Linked DNA regions of Homo sapiens: region 1 is linked to region 2. Evidence: promoter capture Hi-C in human tissues and cell types (Jung and others, 2019). All regions are on one chromosome and are shown on one strand. Each heading gives the region's core, a stretch centred on a gene start or on the middle of the fragment in contact. The rest is flanking DNA. Distances are from core to core; before and after follow the strand shown.

Evidence for each region. Contacts are between HindIII fragments. The study calls those that stand out against the background at their distance.
Region 1: a contact is called between a fragment that was not itself captured here and the fragment with the promoter of ARL4D in region 2, in 1 of the 25 tissues and cell types used here (spleen).

What each region holds. Positions count from the first base shown.
Region 1 is chr17:43,562,187-43,568,021 of GRCh38, reverse strand. No RefSeq gene overlaps it. Among named protein-coding and RNA genes, the nearest start is that of ETV4, 19 kb to the right of the region's middle. The HindIII fragment of the contact is 6,893 bases long and covers 980-5,835 here.
Region 2 is chr17:43,397,742-43,402,890 of GRCh38, reverse strand. It overlaps ARL4D (ARF like GTPase 4D), which reads right to left and starts at 3,898. Exons shown (of 2, transcript NM_001661.4): 1 at 3,798-3,898; 2 at 1,754-3,230. The coding sequence starts at 3,158. The coding sequence ends at 2,553. RefSeq lists an enhancer at 3,271-3,774. The HindIII fragment of the contact is 9,238 bases long and covers 1-5,149 here.

The sequences.
Region 1 (5,835 bases), core at 3,177-5,676, 160 kb before region 2:
GGTTTCATCATGTTGGTCAGGCTGATCTTGAACTCCTGACCTTGTGATCCGCCCGCCTCGGCCTCCCAAAGTGCTGGGATTACAAGCGTGAGCCACCGCGCCCGGCAAAACTGGCACTTTCTATGTCAAGGTGCCAGATGTGTATGGATGAGAGGACCTTCTGTCCCACCTGCAAGGCTTGTGGGTGATGTCCTTTGCTGCTCAGCACAGCAATAGTGCTTGGATGACATCAGTTCTGCTTCCTGTCCCTAAAACTAAAAGTGAACACTAAAAGTTTACTGCTTCACCAAGATGGCTTTAGGGCTATTTCTTTTTCTTTTTTCTTTTTTTTTTTTTTTTTTTTGAGATGGAGTGCTGCACTGTTGCCCAGGCTGGAGTGCGGTGGCTCAATCTCGGCTCACTGCAAGCTCTGCCTCCCGAGTTCACGCCATTCTCCTGCCTCAGCCTCCCGAGTAGCTGGGACTACAGGCGCGCCACCATGCCCGGCTAATTTTTGTGAGTGTGTATGTGTGTGTATTTTTAGTAGAGACGGAGTTTCACCATGTTAGCCAGGATGGTCTCGATCTCCTGACCTTGTGATCCACCCGCCTCGGCCTCCCAAAGTGCTGGGATTACAGGCATGAGCCACTGCGCCCGGCTGGGGCTACTTCTATGTACATTTTATTGGATTAGAACATCTGCCTAGAAATGTACCCAGTGTAGGTCTGATGCCTTTTCACGAAGTCCATTCCCAGATCAAGAGACAGAACGTTTCCTCAACCCCAGAAGCCTCCATGTGTCTCCTTCCAGAGGTAACCACTCTCCTGGCTTCTTTATTTATTTATTTATTTTTGAGATGGAGTATTGCTCTGTTGCCCAGGGTGGAGTGCAATGGCGCGATCTCGGCTGGCTGCAACCTCTGCCTTCCAGGTTCAAGCGATTCTCCTGCCTCAGCCTCCCGAGTAGCTGGGATTACAGGCACCCACCATCAAGCTCAGCTAATTTTTGTACTTTTGTAGAGACAGGGTCTCACCATGTAGGCCAGGCTGGTCTTGAACTCCTGACCTCAGGTGATCTGCCTGCCTCAGTCTCCCAAAATGCTGGGATTATAGGCATGAGCCACCGTGCCCCGCCCACTCTCCTGGCTTCTAATAATAATAGCACAGATTAGCTTTGCCTGGATTTGAACTTTATATAAATGTAACTAGAGGTGCACTTGGATGACCCATAATGACATCCACATCAGGAAATTCAGCACACTGCTGCTGCAGGAAACAAGAGCATAGAGGAGCTCTAGTCTCTCTAGAAGCCAGACTTTGTGCTGCAAGATGTGGGCCCTGGAAAAAGGGATGTCATGTACAACTTAGACTCTTTCCTTCTTGAGCATTTGTTCAAAGTGGATTGAGACTCAGGAGATCCAGATGAGAGGCCCAGTTCTGCCGTGAACTCCCTGGTAAACCTGGATAAGTCACTTTGCCCCTCATCTGTACAACAGGGGTGAGAATGATAATAACTGAGGTTTCTTGAGCACTTGCTATGTGCCAAGGACTGCTCCAACTCATTTATCCTCTAGACCAGGGGTCAGCAGTTATGGCCTCCTACCTGTTTGTGTACAGCCTGCAAGTTGAGAATCATTCTTACATTTTTAAAAGGTTTGAAAAAAAAAATCAAAAGAATAATACTTCACAGCTGGGCGTGGTGGCTCAACCTGTAATCCCAGCACTTTAGGAAGCCTAGGTGGGAGAATCCCTTGAGGCTAGGAGTCGAGACCAGCCTGGGCAATGTAGCAAGACCTCTGTCTCAACAAAAAATTAAAAAATTATCCAGGTGTGATGGCATGTGCCTGTAGCCCTAGCTACTTGGGAAGCTGAGGCAGGAGGATCACTTGAGCCCAAGAGTTCCAGCCAGCAGTGAGCATGATGGTGCCACTGTGCTCTAGTCTGGGCAACAGAGTGAGGCCCTGTCTCTCTCTTTTTTTTTTCTTTGAGACGGAGTCTCGCTCTGTCACCCAGGCTGGAGTGCAGTGGTGCGATCTCAGCTCACCGCAACCTCTGCCTCCCGGGTTCAAGCTATTCTCCTCCCTCAGCCTCCCAAGTAACTGACACTATAGGCCTGTGCCACCACACCTGGCTAATTTTTGTATTTTCAGTAGAGATGGATTTTCACCATGTTGGCCAGGCTGGTCTCAAACTCCTTACCTCAAGTGATCTGCCCACCTTGGCCTCCCAAAGTGTTCGGATTACAGACGTGAGCCACCATACCCGGCTGACCCTATTTCTAAAAAAATAAATAAATAAACAAATATTGGGTACTGGGCTTAGTACCTAGGTGATGAAATAATCTGTACAACAAAACCCCGTGACACAAGTTTACCTATATAACAAACCTGCACATGTACCCCTGAACCTAAAAGTTAAAAAAAGGAATAATACTTTGTGACATATGAAAATTACATGAAATTCAAATGTCCGTGTCCATAAATAAAATTTTGTTGGAACACAGTCATGCTCATTCATTTACATCTATGGCTGCTTCCAGAGTAGGTATGACAGAGACCTTATGGCCCTCAAAGGCTAAAATATTTACCACCTGACCTTCTATAGAAAAAGGTGGCTGGGCCGGGCACAGTGGGTCGTGCCTGTAATCCCAGCACTTTAGGAGGCTAAGGCGGGTGGATCACCTGAGGTTAGGAGTTCAAGACCAGCCTGGCCAACATAGTGAAACCCTATCTCCACTAAAAGTACAAAAATTAGCTGGGCGCAGTGGCGGGCACCTGTAATCCCAGCTACTCCGAAGGCTGAGGCAGGAGAATCACTTGAACCCAGGAGGCGGAGGTTGCAGTGAGCCAAGATCGCACCATTGGACTCCAGCCTGGGTGACAGGAGCGAAACTCTGTCTCAAAAAAGAAAAGAGAAGAAAAAGGTGGCTGACCCCTTCTCTAAACTGTGTTCTAACTCCCCTCTCACTCTAGACATTCTTTTTATCATCCCCATGGCCCAGATGCAGAGAGGTTAGATCACCTGCCAGGGAAACCCATCTTGGGGTGGTAGCAGGCGGGCTGGCTCCAGTTCACTCCCTCCAGGAAACACCCTATGTGAGGCTCTCTGAGGTGGTAGACATGGCATTGCTTTGCAAACTGCAGAGAAGTTTACAAATGCTAGATCTGTACCTCCCTTTCCTCCTGGTAGGCATCAGTGACTGAATCTACACTCACTCCCCAGATCAAAATGCCCCAACACCCTACACATACCACACCCAGCCCAAAGACCTCCTGATATGATTAATTAGCACTTTTTCTACAAGCTTCTACTTCGGAAGGAGAGGGTTGAGTCTACCATACTCTCCGTTCATGGCCTGTTGTCATAACTGGTCTGTGTAGTGCCCTGCTCTTGGTTTCATTCATTCATACATTCCCTTTTTTTTTTTTTTTTTTTTTGAGACAGGGTCTTCTCTGTCACCCAGGCTGGAGTGAACTGGTGAGATCAGAGTTCACTGCAGCCTTGACCTCATGGGCTCAAGCAATCCTCTCACCTCAGCCTCCTAACTTGCTGGGACTACAAGGACATGCCACTGTAATTTTTTTCATTTTTTTGTAGAGATGGGGTCTCACTGTGTTGTCCAGGCTGGTCTTGAACTCCTGGGCTCAAGCGATCACCCCACCTCAGCATCCCAAAGTGCTGGGATTATAGGCATGAGCCACTGCACCCAATCTGTTTGCTGAGTTCTTTCAGGATGGGTAGTTATTTCGTAGGCATGGGGTTTATTTACATAAATAGCATTGTGTTATATATTTTGTTTCCTACAATTTTTTTCCTCTACAACATTTGTTTGCTCTTTCCTTTCCTGTTGAGGTATAACATATATACGGTAAAGTGAGTAATGTGCACTGATCTGAAATATGAAACTCGATTTTTAGCCTACATATACATCTGTGTAATCATCACCGAGATCAAAATATAGAACATTTCCAGTACCCCAGCCAAGTTTCCCTTGTGTCCCTTCACAGTCAATAAACTGCCCCCTTCCCTGCCTGAGGTACCCACTCTTCCAGCTCCCATCTCCACCCATTCATTGAATTTTTTCTTGAACTTCCTCTGCATGGAATCGTACCTGTCTTTCATGTCTTGCTTCTTTTGCTCAACTTGTCTGGGAGACTCCCCTATGTCGTTGCGGGTAGAGAGAATTTGTATTTTTTGCTGTTGCGGAGCACTACGTTTTTGAGATCTATCGCGGGGCTCTGTGTACAGGCGTCAGTGCTTCTTGCTGCTACCTGGCGCCCCTTGGTGCTTCCACCCACTTGACCTTTCCACTCTCCCAGTGAGGGACACCCAGGGTGCCTCCTATGAGGCTGCTCTGATCATCCTCATCCACATCTCCTTATGGAGCCGTGTGAACATTTCACTGGATGAATACCTAGGAAAAGAATCTTTTGGGCACAGGGAATTGACTGCCCCAGCAACTGACAAACTGCTGAAATTGACTAGCTCTTTTCCATGTCTACCAAGGCAGGAGCAGGGAGAAGGGAAGAAGAGCTGCTGCTTTGGTGATCCTCCTCTGACCCCACTCTCCCCTCCCCCTTGCCCTCCAGGAAAACCTTTCAGCTCCCCCACCTCTTCTTCTTGCAGGACCCAACTAAGCGCTTTGCTTCCTGAATGTCGCTGCCTCCGCAGCAGCCCGCACCATCCTGCTGCATTATAACAGGACGATAATCAATGAACTGCTAACTCTATTGCAATAAAGGAGCGAGCCCAACCTTATATAATTCTTTTTAATTGTTTTCTCACATTACAAGGTTTTTTTTTTTTTTTGGCTAAACTTATTCCGCCGTAAGTTATGTCGTTTAATTTCTCAAAGTGCTAATAATTTAATTGCTTCCTTCCTGCAGACAAAGTGCCTGAACTGTCCTCCCTCCCCGGCACGGAGATTATAAAACGGAGTTGGCAGGAATACCTAAGAGGAGAGTCTTTTTGGCGGCAGGATTTGATGGGAAGCAGCTTTCTCAGAAGTCAGTGTGTGAGGCTGGGAACCTGGCTTGGGACTTCAAAGGGGCATGGGGCCCAGCCAAGCCTGCCTAACTCGAGAGGGTTTATGATAATCACAGGGGAGGGGAAAGGGAAGAGCTGAGATTAGAGAGGCTGGACGAGGGTGGGGAACACTAAACATGGAGCTTCCCGTCCTGAAAGGCTGTCAGGGAAGCTGGGCTCCATCTGCAGCAGAGGGATTTAGATCAGACTGGTAGGCGGAGTGGGGGCATTCCTGAGAGTCAGGACTTCGAGATGCTGACTGGACCCGGGACAGGGTGGGGAGGTAACATCTGATAACAGGAACTAGCCTTTATTGATCCCTTACTGAAAGCCTGAGCTTCCCTAGAGCATCTCAATTTACCTGCACACCCAGGTCTCTGAGGCAGGTACTACTAGTATTGCCGTTTTACAGATGAGGAAACTGAGGCATAGAAAGGTTCCAGGCCCCATAGCTTGTTGGTGAATGATGAGTTGAGTGATGGCATCACATCTTATGTGGCAAAAGGGGGACAGGATCAGGGATGAGCGACTCTTGAAGATTCCAAGGCAGTGACCTCCTTCCTCTTGCCTAGGGTCTGATTCAGTCAGAATTGCTTTAACCTACCCATGCTCCGCCACCCTGCCCCCGACCCCAGTGACTCCCATGATCTATAGGATATAATACAAGCTCCTAAACAAGGTCTTCAAAATGCTCACACTCCCTAGCCTGAGGGTAGGAATTTTGAGGACTACCCCCAAATTTGTCTCTCCCCTAGGATTTCCTTTCTGGCTCCTACACCTTGGCAAATGCTGCTTCTTTAAACCTGGAACCTTCTCCCCTCTCCTAGGAAGA
Region 2 (5,149 bases), core at 2,649-5,148:
ACTACTCTGGCAGAGCAGTTGGCTTCTCCGTCTCTCTCTGACACAAGCCCCCATCTTCCTTTAGTGCCACCAGCTGGACAGTCAGGCCAGAGGGACTGGGGAAGAGCCTGGGACATTCAAAGGCCTCCTGTGGACCATGATCCCTGACCGCCCCCAGGGCTGGGCATGGGGAAGCAGAAGATACCTGTTTTAAGCAGGTAGGGAAGGAGTGTGGTTGGAAGAGCCAGAATCAGGAGCTGACATCTTGGAGGCCCCTCTGCTAGGGATTGGGGAACACCTCTGCACCTCTTCCCCCAAATCTGGAGACCTAAGTACACCAAGTGACAAGAAATGAAAATGTATAATTGAAGATTTTAAGACAAAAGAGCAGAATTTGGGTGGGGTGGGGAGGAAAGATCTCCTGGCAGGACAGAGGGTCAGTTCTGGCCAGTTCCTTTCCAGCCTGGACTGGGGCCTCAACCTGTCCTTGGGCTATAGGACTGTGCCCCAAAAAGACTGGGAGAGGAGTCGCAGGTGTGTCTGGGGGAGGGGCAGGTAGCACATGTTCCCAGCAGAACCAGCCCAGCAGTTCTGTCAAGCAGGCCCTAGCACTGACGCACACTTGGGCACCCTTCCGGATCAATGCACACTCACCCCAATCCTGCCAGCTACAGGGATGGGGAGGGGACCAAATCTGAGCTTCTGGCAGCGCTGGGTAGGAAGAAGCAAGTTCTTTAGGAAACCTTCCCCAGAAGTGGGGGTTGCCGGCACCTTCTCTTTCTCCCCAGGTCCTTTCATCTGATTCCGGAGAAGAGGAGACAGAATTGGGGAGAAGCAGGGTGTGAACGCTGAACCTGCTCTGGGGATTGTGTGTTTGCACAAAAGGTGGCAGGGGGTGGCTGGAGGGCTCGACAACTGGAAAGAATTGTGCTTGTTTTTTTTCTTTTTTAGAGACATGGTCTCCCTATGTTGCCCAGGCTGGTCTTGAACTCCTGGGCCCAAGCCATCCTCCTGCCTCAGCCTCCCAAAGTGCTGGGATTACAGGCGTGAGCCACTGTGCCCGGCCTTGTGCTTAGTTCTTACTCACTGCTCCCACCCAGAAGATTAAGAGGATCTAAGGGTTCTGTTATCAGACATAGCTGGCCCTGGTGCTGGTGAGTAGGGGCACTCAAGCCCTTGTAATATTAGCATTTTATTCTTACAATCACCACAAATACTGGGGGCTTATGTCTTCCCCCTTCTATCTTGGAGTCTGGAGGGTGTATGTCCAGCAGTCCTCTCTGCCACCAAGCACAAACAGCTACTACTTCTGCCCCTCTCGTGAGAAGAGCTACCATTCCCAGAGCTGGAAAACTCATGGCTTAGTCACCAGGGCCAGGCTGGCTCAATCCAGCCCAGGCCTCCCTAGCACCAGCCGCTGCCATCATGCCAGTGAGCCAGTCAGCAGGATTGAGTACACAGAGGTGACTTAAGGCCAGGGAGGAATTACTTTCCACTCTCACCACATCTTACAAGGAGGAAAAAAATCAAACCAACCTAAGACTGGGGAAGTGGGGAGGATGGGAACAGAATGGCTCTTTGAGGACTTACCTATATAGACTTAGGTGTCACCAAGGTCAAGAACCTAGGAGTAGCTCAGACTAGCAAAATTTGAAGTTAAATCTGCAAGGAGCAGTTGATATAAGGGACAAGTAAGACCCAGAGGATGAGGGGAGGGGTGTTAAATCAGAGAAAAAGGAAGTGACCCCACCCAAAAAACTACAGAGATCAGGCAATAGCTTGAGGGGTTTTCCACTCCCCCCTATAATTTTCACAAGCCATCCCGTAACACACAATCTAATTTTTATAAGTGCTTGCTTTGCAAATTCAGCTTCAAGATAAATCTCCCTCCCCCTGCGCCACAACCCCATATAGAAATCTTGAATTGTCTCTGGGGCAAGATAAGGAGAGGAAAATGCCCCAGACCAAGGTAAGAGCTACAGTTATCAGTCTTTAATAACTTACAGGCAAATGCTAAAAAATAGTTAATAACAATAATACAGAGGACACACACAGCTTATAAAAAGGGTCATGGATCTACAAATGTGGGGAGGGGTTCTTGGCACTTTCACAGACACAAAAATAAAAACTATGTGACTGGTATTCCTAGAAAAGCAGCCTGGGGAGACTCCCCAGTTGGGGGACAGAGGAAGGGGAGATAGTTATTTCATCCCAAACACATTCTCCAAGTCACTTCCATCCCCCCGCCCCCAAACACATCCAATTAAAAATTTTTAGCCAGAGAAGAAAAATAAGAAACAGGGTCGAGGTAGAGTCACAGTTTACATTTACGTCTCCACAGTCCTGCAGCGCCCACTTCTCCAGAGAGGATGAGAGAGATATGCAAAGACATCCCATCTCCCATCCCCACCCCAGTGTGGCACCAAAACGGGACACCCCATGCTCCTCTCTCCTTCATTGAGGTGGACAGGTCCTGCACCCCAGTCTGACTGAGAGGTCACAGGCTGGTCCCACCCTGCTGTCCAAGTGTGCAGACCCCTACTAGGTGGGAGGAAAGGGAGGGGGGGCTTGGGTCACCGTCTCTTCTTGCCACCCCGAGCTGCCTTCTTCCTCTTGAGGATCATCTCATAGAGGCGCTCAAGGCCCTGCTGCAGGCCCAGACCGTCCACAGCGCTGCAGCCTTGCACATGAGTGAGAGTGGCGGCTGCTAGCTCTCGGACTGCCAGCCTCTTCTCCACCTCAGCAGCGCTCAGTGCCCCGGGCTGGTCCTGCTTGTTGGCCAGCACCAGCACTGGCACGCCCTGGTTGTCCGAGGCCCGGCTGATTCGGTGCAACTCCACCTTGGCTTCCTCCAGCCGCTCAGCCTCCGCAGCGTCCACCACAAACACTAGACCGTCTGTCCGGCGGGTATAAGAGCGCCACAGTGGTCGCAGCTTCTCCTGCCCCCCGACGTCCCACACTTGGAAGGTGATGCCACGCGATCCCCCGAGGGGCACCCGGATCTTCTCGGTGTTGAAGCCTTTGGTGGGGACACTCTGGACAAACTCCTTGAACTTGAGGCGGTAAAGGAGGGAGGTCTTTCCAGCAGAGTCCAGCCCAATGACCACGACATGCAGGGCTTGGAAGTGGGGCAAGAAGGAGGAGGCAGTGGGCGCCATCTCAGTCAAGTGGTTCCCCATAGTGAGCTAAGGCGCCTAGTAGAGGCAGGGAGGCCTTGAAATTGAAGGTTCCAGGGAGCACAGCTGGGTTATCTGAACCAAGAAAAGGTCATGGGAGAAAAAGGAGACGTTTAATAATACACACAAGATTTGCAACTTCTTGATCCCTTCCTAAATCACCCTCCCATCCTTCATTTTTAAAATTCCTTTCCTTTTTTTTTTTTTTTTTAAGGCATAACAGAGGTGTTCCCCCACTCCCTGGGGGGGTCGTGAGGGGGGCGATGGGACCTAGAGAGACTCCCAGGTCCTGGGCCACTCAAGTGGGGGGTGAGGGCTCGATCCATGGACAGTGGGCTTCTAGAGCCTCTTCTCAGAGCTTATGGCGCCATCCCCCAGGCAAGATCCCCGAGGGACGGGGGAAGTCGACAGTGCCCCCAAACTAAGAGCTAGGGTGCAGACGCTGAGACCGGAGATTGAGTCCGGCTCCCACCCGCCCTCCGCAGCCCCAAGCCGTTGACACGGTGCCCTTCCTTACTCCGCGACCCTCGCCCCACCGCCCCGCGACACTCTCCTGCCCGCCCGCCCTCCTCCGATGGCCGACCCCAGCTCCAGCGGCCCGGCACCGGGACCGCCTCAGCACGGTCTGCAGGGTCCGTTTACCTCTCGTGAGCCGCGCTCTCCTCGAGCCTTTCCCGGTGAAACACCGCAGCCGCCCCGCGAGACCCCCGCAGACACCCACCGCGCCTCCAACCGCTGCCTCTGCAGAGCCTGCCTAGGGTTCGGCCTTAAAAACCCGCGTGTGACGTCACAAGGCGCGGGACAATCAGCGGCGGCGGGGCGGAGCGTGGAGCTACGGGCGCTGCAGCCCCCACCATACGCGGAGGGGCGTTTGCTTAATCCGTGGCTGCTCTATTTGACCTTTTCTACCACACTCTAATATTTGGAATTAAACTTGGAATTAATGCAGAATGGAGGGTGGGAGGGGCGAAAGGAACGTGCCTGGCAACGTTTGACTCGGGAGGAAAGATATGAATACCCTAATATTCTCACTACCATCGCATCCCCCTCCACCAGGCCGAGATACCACCCCACATGGACACTCCTTCGGCCAAAGGATCTACTCGGAGAGGCTGACAAGTCTTTCTCCTTTATCTTTCATAATTCAATTGTCAAACCTAAGGTGAACCTGGAGCCCCATAAAACAGCTGCTTCATAGTGCTAAGCCCATTATCTGCAATAGCCTGTTAGGGACTGTTGTCTGCCTTTTACAGATACACAAAGCCCTGAAGGGTTAAATGACCTATTTGAGGTTACACTCAACAGTATGTTTAGGCGCAGTGGATCATACCTGTAAACTCAGCACTTTGGGAGGCTGAGGCAGGCACATCACTTAAGCTCAGGAGTTCCACCAGCCTGGACAACAGGGTGAAACCCCATCAGTAATAAAAAGACAAAAATTAGCCGGGCGTGGTGGCGGGTGCCTGTAATCCCAGCTACTCGGGAGGCTGAGGCAGGAGAATCGCTTGAACCCGGGAGGCGGAGGTTGCAGTAAGCTGAGATAGCGCCACTGCATTCCAGCCTGGGCGACAGAGCAAGACTCTGTCTCAAAACAAAGCAAACAAAAAAAAAAAACCAGTGTGTTTATTGGGCTGGGCACGGTAGCTCACGCCTGTAATACCAGCATTTTGGGAGGCCGATGTGGGCGAAGCACCTGAGGTCAGGAGTTCGAGACCAGCCTGGCCAACATGGTGAAACCCCGTCTCTACTAAAAATACAAAAATTAGCTGGGTGTGGTGGCGGGCGCCTGTAATTGCAACTATTCGGGAGGCTGAGGCAGGAGAATCACTTGAACCCGGGAGGCGGAGGTTGCAGTGAGCTGAGATCACACCATTGCACTCCAGCCTGGGCAACAGAGCAAGACTCTGTCTCAAAAAAAACAAAAACAAAACAAAACAAAACAAAAAACACTGTGTTTATTGACCTCATTCATACTGTGTGCTCTGAATGAGACA